Linked DNA regions of Homo sapiens: region 2 is linked to region 1. The links are contacts of gene promoters, found by promoter capture Hi-C in blood cells and fetal thymus (Javierre and others, 2016). All regions are on one chromosome and are shown on one strand. The core of a region is centred on a gene start or on the middle of the fragment in contact, and the rest is flanking DNA. Distances in the headings are between cores, read along the strand shown. Region 1 holds the start of ATP6V1C1 (ATPase H+ transporting V1 subunit C1). Region 2 overlaps MAILR (macrophage interferon regulatory lncRNA).

The links. Contacts are between HindIII fragments. The CHiCAGO score rates a contact against its expected background, and 5 or more counts as called.
Region 2: a fragment that was not itself captured here is called in contact with the fragment with the promoter of ATP6V1C1 in region 1 in 1 of 17 cell types (erythroblasts); the score reaches 5.7 in erythroblasts.

The regions. Positions count from the first base shown.
Region 1 is chr8:103,019,218-103,022,922 of GRCh38, forward strand. It overlaps ATP6V1C1 (ATPase H+ transporting V1 subunit C1), which reads left to right and starts at 1,866. Exons shown (of 13, transcript NM_001695.5): 1 at 1,866-2,008. RefSeq lists an enhancer at 2,096-2,305. The HindIII fragment of the contact is 13,168 bases long and covers 1-3,705 here.
Region 2 is chr8:102,901,542-102,905,027 of GRCh38, forward strand. All of the region lies in intron 2 of MAILR (macrophage interferon regulatory lncRNA), which reads left to right. Among named protein-coding and RNA genes, the nearest start is that of MAILR, 39 kb to the left of the region's middle. The HindIII fragment of the contact is 627 bases long and covers 1,664-2,290 here.

The DNA.
Region 1 (3,705 bases), core at 616-3,115:
GCTCACCCCTGTAATCCCAGCACTTTGGGAGGGCCAAGTGGGCAGATCACTTGACCTCAGGACTTGGAGACCAGCTTGGCCAACATGAGGAAAACCCGTCTCTACTAAAAATACAAAAATTAGTTGGGTGTGATGGTGCACGCCTGTAGTCCCAGCTACTTAGGAGGGCAAGGCACAAGAATCGCTTGAACCCGGGAGGTGGAGTTTGCAGTGAGCTGAGATCGCACCACTGCTCTCCAACCTGGGCGACAGGGCGAGACTCCATCTCAAAAAAAACCCCAAAACTAAAAAAAAAACCCCAAATGTTGGAAAGTTGCGCGAGGTATAATTCAGTTTAGAAATTAAGAATCCAAGACAAAAAGTCTGCCTCAGGACCACACACAAGCACGAAGAAACCAAGATAGTTCAAGCATGGACCTTAAAACTGCACTGTCTAAGGCTGTTGTCACTGGTCTCATGTGGCTATTTAAATTTTAATTAAAGTGAAATAAATTTTAAAATTCAGTTACTAAGTCACACTAACCATATTTCAAGTGCTCAATGGCTCCATGTAGCTAGTGGGTACTGTACAGACAGCACAGGATAACATTTGCATCATGGCAGAAAGTTTTAGTGGACCTAACCAAAAAAAAAATGCCTTTAGGCTCATTTCGTGATGGCAGATAAAAGCCTCTGGAATTCTGATAAGTTTCTGAAGCCATGTTATAGAACTGGTTATTGTAATTGCATGAACTTCATCCAAAACTGGTGAAAGCGTCAGGTTGGGGATAGTCTGGTGGTTGTTACTTTCTGTCCAACCTAATACTGAGGCTCTGAGAAATTCTGTGGTGAATTTCTGTAGGGGGACACAGCAGAAAAGGCATAGTATAGGTCAGAAAACCTGGGTCCTATAATACATAGTAATAATGACGACCATTTACTGGTTGTTTCCTATGTACCAGGCACTGTGCTAACCACAGGCTTCATTTAATCCTCACAATACCTGTGTAAGGTATTATTACCACCACTTTGCATGTGAACAGGCTGAAATTCAGAGGAGTAAGGTCACACAACTAGTAAGTAGGAGAGCCTGGATTCAACACCTGGTATCTATTCCCTTGCGCTGAACAACTCCGTGCCCTCACTTTCTTCATCTGTAGATCTAAAAGGATTAAATTAGAACATCTCAAAATTTCTACTACTTCTAAAACTCTGTGTTCTAAATTAGGACATTACTATCTATCTCCCCAAGCTAATGAAATAAGCAGGGTTCCTGGGAGGAGCTTGTTACCTATTTTTCTCCAAAGGAGATGCTTTCCCCTGTCTATGCCTCTGTCCTAAAACCTTTGGTTTCCCACTATCTAATGTGGTTTCAACTATCTATGAGGCGCTTTCGTGGCAAGGAGTGATTCTCTCCAGTAGGCAATCCTAAGAACGAGCGCAGTGCTTGGCGCACAGTAAATGCTCCATGGACCATTTATGAAATTAAGTCTAAGTGGACTTCAGGAAAATGTGAATCTGCTAAAATGAACTACTAGCCAGTATACTAGGTAGAAAACCCAGCTGACGAAGAAAACCCCAAGTGGAGAAGCCCTTGTAGGGGGTTGGAGACAATTTCTGACCCGCAGAAACCTGCAGTGGCGCTGACGTTTACAAGTGGTGGACAAAACGCCACTTGCAACACTGGAAGAAGCGGAAAACCCCACCCACTCTGGAACAACAGCGATCAGCCCCGAATATAGGGTCCCCTTGCCGCCCCGTAGCCTCCTAGTCCCGCCCCTCTCCCAAGGCCCGGCAGTGGCAGCGGCTGCGGCTGCGCAGTGGCGCGGGCGTAGGCGGAGCAGCGCGCGCCGCGGTCAGCTGACTGCTGGGCTGGCACGTGACTTGTTCTGTGTTCGCTTGGGTAGAGGAAGCCGTGAGGCCGGAGCTTAGGTCGGGAAGGGATGGATCGCTGAGCCGATAGCGTCCGCTAGGCTGTCTGCCTCGGTACCTGTTACTGCTGCTACTTCCTCGTTTGACACCTTCCTGGGTCAGTGAGCGATGGCTCTCCCCGGATGGGGAGTCCTGGTCAGGCCGAAGCATGAGCTCCGGTCGCTGCCTGGGAGGGACGCGGGTGGGTGCGGGGGCAGAGACCGTGGCGTTGGAGCTGGAGCTGGCTGGGTGGCTGTGTCTGGTTTCTCGGCGCCAATTCACCGTCTTGGGCCTAGGTTCCGTCTCTAAGGAAGAGAAGGAGGGAAAAAGAGAAAGAGCTCTCGTGGGTAGTTAATGACAGGCAGAAAGGAGAGATACAGCGGTCTGGGATCTTTCTTCTTGGGTAGGAATGCACGCCGCCTGATTGATTGAGGGGAATGAAGTGATAGGTCCAGGTGAGGCTATGGAGTGGTGTGTGTGAGGTCACAGCTAGCGCAAGTGCCTTCACTGGGTGTGTGTTGGGGGGGGCGCGGGTGTCGGGGGTCGGGGGTGGTGGGATGACAGTTTAAAGGCCTAGGAGCCCCTAACTGCAGGCAAGGAACCCTCACAGAGTACACAAGGTCCCTCTAGGAATGAGAAAGAACAGGAATCCAGAGAACTCAACTATTTTTTAGTAGAATGGGGGAGGGTAGGCAAACAAAACAGAACAAAACAAAACAAACCCCTAGAAAAGAACTTGGTGAGAGTCACATAAGGCATATTGAATCACTTGAGAAACAGGAGTAAGGGGGAAGCTAGTATTCTTTTCAGAGGAAAATTCTGGTATGTTAGGGAAAAATCACATGCTTCAGTGCGAGCCCAGTACTTAGCGCCGCTCTGGGAATGGAACGGGTGGGATGTGAACAGTCTATCCTTAGGAGTTAGCACTAACGTTGGAGAGAAAAGTCTACACACAGGACACGTTAAAATACGATGCAGTTTATGTATACTTACCAAAAAGAGAATGCGAAGTGCTTTGAAAGTGTGGAGCAACGACACATGTGTAAACTGGCACTATGGGAAGATATTCTGGAGGAAAGAAAACTTGAGTCTTGGCAAGCCCTCAGGATTTGAACAGGTTGAGAGAAATGGGGATAATTTTACAGGCAGGGAAAGCCACAGGATTTGAAAGCCTGAAGATGGGGGTAGGGAATGCTTCTGGTGGAGTCAGAAGTAGCTTTTACAGTGGATTGCACTGCGGAGAAGTGGGAAAGAAAGTTGGGAGTCAGGTAACGAGGACTTTTGAATGGTAGTCGTTTACTTATTCATGCAAATAATGTGTACTGAATACATGCTGTATGCAGGTACAGTGCTGATGGTAGGGTTTAGAAAATTGTCTTTATAGAGCTTACAGGCAAGCAGAGGGGATGGATTTTAAAAATCAAGCAAGCGTGAAATGTGCTTTGAAGGAATAACAGTGGTATGAAAGAGTGTAGTAGGGGCATGTGTATTATGGAAGATTTTAAAAAGGCATTGCTAAGAATATGACTTTTTAAAGATTAAAACAATTTTATTTATATTCTTCATACCCTCTCGCTCTGAGAGGGTATGACTTTTGACCTGAGATCTGAAAAGAGACTGAAAAGGGAATGTGAAGGTGTGAGTGAAAAGAACATTCCAGGCCTGGCAGGGTGGCTCGTGACTATAATCCCAACATTTTGGGAGGCTGAGGTGGGAGGATTGCCTGAGGCCAGGAGTTCAGGACCAGCCTGGGCAACATAGTGAGACCACCGTCTCTACCAAAAATAAAAAAATAACTAGCTGGGAGTGGTGGTG
Region 2 (3,486 bases), core at 727-3,226, 120 kb before region 1:
CATCTCAAAAAAACGTTATGCAAAGATATTTGCAAATATTATATCTGATAAGGGATTAATATCCATAATACATAAGGAACTACAACTCAACAACAACAAAAAATCGTATTAAAAAATGGGCAAAGTATCCTGCACGTGTACCACTGAACTTGAAGTAAAAGTTGGAAATATTTTTAAAAAGGGCAAAGTAGTTGGGTGTGGTGGTGCATGCCTGTAGTCCCAGCTACTCGGGAGGCCAAGGTGGGAGGATCACTTGAGCCCAGGAATTCAAGGTTGTAGCGATCTATGATCATGCCATTGCACTCCAGCCTGGGTGACAGAGTAAGACCCCATCTCTGAAAAAAACAATGGGCAAATAATTTGAATAGACCTTTCTTCAAAGAAGGTATACAAATGGCCAATAAGCATATGAAAAGATGTTTAACTTCACTAGTCACCAGGGAAGTTCAAATCAAAACTACAAAACCCATTAGGATGACTGTTATCAAAAAATGAAAAATAACAAGTATTGGCAAGGATGTAGAGAAATCGAAACCCTTGTACATTGCTGGTGAAAACGCCACCTGGTTACAGCCACTGTGGGAAACAGTTTGGCTATTCTTCAAAAAGGTAAACAGAATTACCGTAAGATTCAGCAATTCCACTTCTAGCTATATATCCAAAAGAATTGAAAGCAGGTATTCAGAAATTGTACATCCATGTTCATAGCAACATTATTCAAAATAGCTTAAAGGTTATTGAGAAACAACCCAAATGTCCATCAATAGATAAATGGGTTGACCAAGTGTGCTATACACATAGAACAGAATATTACTTGGCCGTAAACAAGAATGAAGTCCTGATACATGCGACAACATGGATGAACATTGAAAACATGCTCAGTGAAATAAGACGGACACAGAAACACAAGTTTTGTATGATTCCACTTGTATGAGATACCTAGAATAGGCACATTCATAAAGAGAGAAAGTAGAACGGACACCCGGGACCAGAGGGAAAGGAGAAATGGGAAGGTATTGTTTAATGGGCATAGAGTCTGTCTGGGATAATGAACAAGTTTTGGAAATGGATAATGGTTGCACAACATTGTGATGTAGTTAATGCCAATGGATTGTACACTTTAAAATGGTTAAAGTGGTACATTATGAACATTTCACTATAGTTTTTAAAAATCAACAAAAAATTTTATGTAAAAAGTTCTGTGGGGTTTAATCTTTTAGCAGTTCATAAATCCATTAACATTTGCCACAGCTACCCTACAGAGAGGCATACTATGTGAACACCACACTTGGCTTTCTGAGCTGGAACTAAAAACACCATTACTCTACTCCTTGGAGTTTCCCCAGAGTGAGTCTGTCCACACGTGGTTGCTATTGGACCCTACCTGTTGCTACTGTATCACTGTGCTGTGTTACTAAGGAGTGTGACACGTTCTGACTTTCAAAGCATTTACACAGTGAATAATACCACTTTTGTGCTCCTTGGTATAAGGCCACATCTTCAAGTACTTCAGCATTTAAAAAAAAAAAGTGAGCAAAGGATTTATCTGGCTAGAGTTTAAACTCCAATCATTATTTAGTCAGGGACAGAGCCAATTGTAGTGTTTAAACAGCATTATTATTTAGACAGGGACAGAGCCAAGTTTACGGAATTCTGGAAGGCAAGCTTAACCTCGGGGTACCTTAGCAGTGTTCTATGTGCTGGTCCTGAGCATTTAATCCAGAGCAAACTGGTGATCCATTTATAACCCAAGTTTTCTCTGTAAACTGGAAATAAAAAGATGGATAAGGCATAACTCCTGCTGTCTGTCATGGGGTTGAAAGTCTAACAGAGGCGTAGAAATAATGCGACTAGGGTACAATAAGTGTTAATCAGCACATATTCAAAGTGTGTTGGGTGACTGGGGTCAGGGTCCAGGGCAAGGTCACAGAGATGAGATGGCATTTGAGCCACATCCTGAAGGAAGAATGGAGTTTTCCAGGATGACAAAACACAAAACGAAGGAATATGCATATTCCTTTTGCATATGCAGAAGGAACTGCATATGCAAAACCTCAAAGCATGGCAGGATGGGACACCCAGAAAACCACAAGCAGCCGTGTGTGGGTAGAGCAAAGGCGAGTAGGAGAGTGGCAGATCCTGAAAGGACATAGAAAGAACTGAGATTTTGTCATAGCTCAATGGGCAACATGGGCAACTGTTGAAGGGTTTTAAGTGTGGAAGGGGCCTGGAGGGGCATGATCAGGTTTTCATTTCAAAAAAGAAATTTAAGTCTGGTGGATGGATTTGAAGCTTGGGACAAGGAGACTAGTCTGAAGATTGTCAGAGGAATCCAGGTGAGAGGTGAAGAAAGCCCAGGTTCCAGAGCTATTTCAGAGGCAGCAGAGACAAGAATTGTAACTATTTCACTAGAATGAAGTTCAAAATGAGGTCACCGTTCCTTTCATCTTGGAATTATAGCAAGGTGAAGCCCGCAGAGCTGAAGGGCAGCTGGTTCCTCCTGTACCCGCTTCTTGTGGCCAAGCCGCAGGAGCCTCAGCCTTGCCATGGGAATGGGGCCTGTAGCTGCTTTTTCTCTCTCCTTCCTCTTCTCTAGGGCACCCTTACTCAGCCTTCCTAAACTATTTGAAGACATGGCCTTTAAATTTCCTGTTGTCTTAATTTATTTTTTTTTTGACTCAGTTTTATGGATACTTCAAAAATCAAGAAAGAATAAGAAGATAGTAAAGAATGTTCCTCTCAGCCACCCTGCATCCATCCATTTCCCACCCCAACCTGCAAAAGGTAACCACTGGATGGGCCCGGTGGCTCACACCTGTAATCCCAGCATCTTGGGAGGCCAAGGTGAGCAGATCACTTGAGCCCAGGAGTTCAAGACCAGCCTAGGTAACATGGGGAAACCCCATCTCTACAAAAACACCAAAATTAGCTGGACGTGGTGGCGCATGCCTGTAGTCTCAGCTACTCGGGAGGCCGTGGTGGGCGGATCTGTTACTAGTCTCTTATGTATCCTTCCAGGGATTTTTGTAAACCTATAGTCAAGCAAATATGATTTTACGTTCTTCCTTTCCCCCTTTTATTTCCATTCTTTCTTGGGGACAGGGGTCCTTCTTAGGATAAAGTTAGGAAGCCCCAGGGGAACTCATTCAGACCTAAGGAGTCAGTCCTAGTTGCCGTTGTCTATTAGTAAGCCCTTTTCCTCTGCAATACCTTACAGTCTAAGGGCCCCAAACAAAAAGCCTTCCAGTGGGGCAAGGCCTGATTGCCTTAGGAGGCCCCACAATGGCCGAGGCCTCCATCTATCCCTGGACCTACTGAAGTAACTGAGGCACCCATGCTGGCCTGCACCAGACAGTGTGTGTGAGACCCTTGAACACAGTGGAAATGCAGGCATCACTGAGGCACCCAGCCTCAGGCTGAGGACAGAGTGCCTGTGCTGTAATTAGATGTGACTCCTCCACAGCCAAGAGGGCCTACACTCTCAGT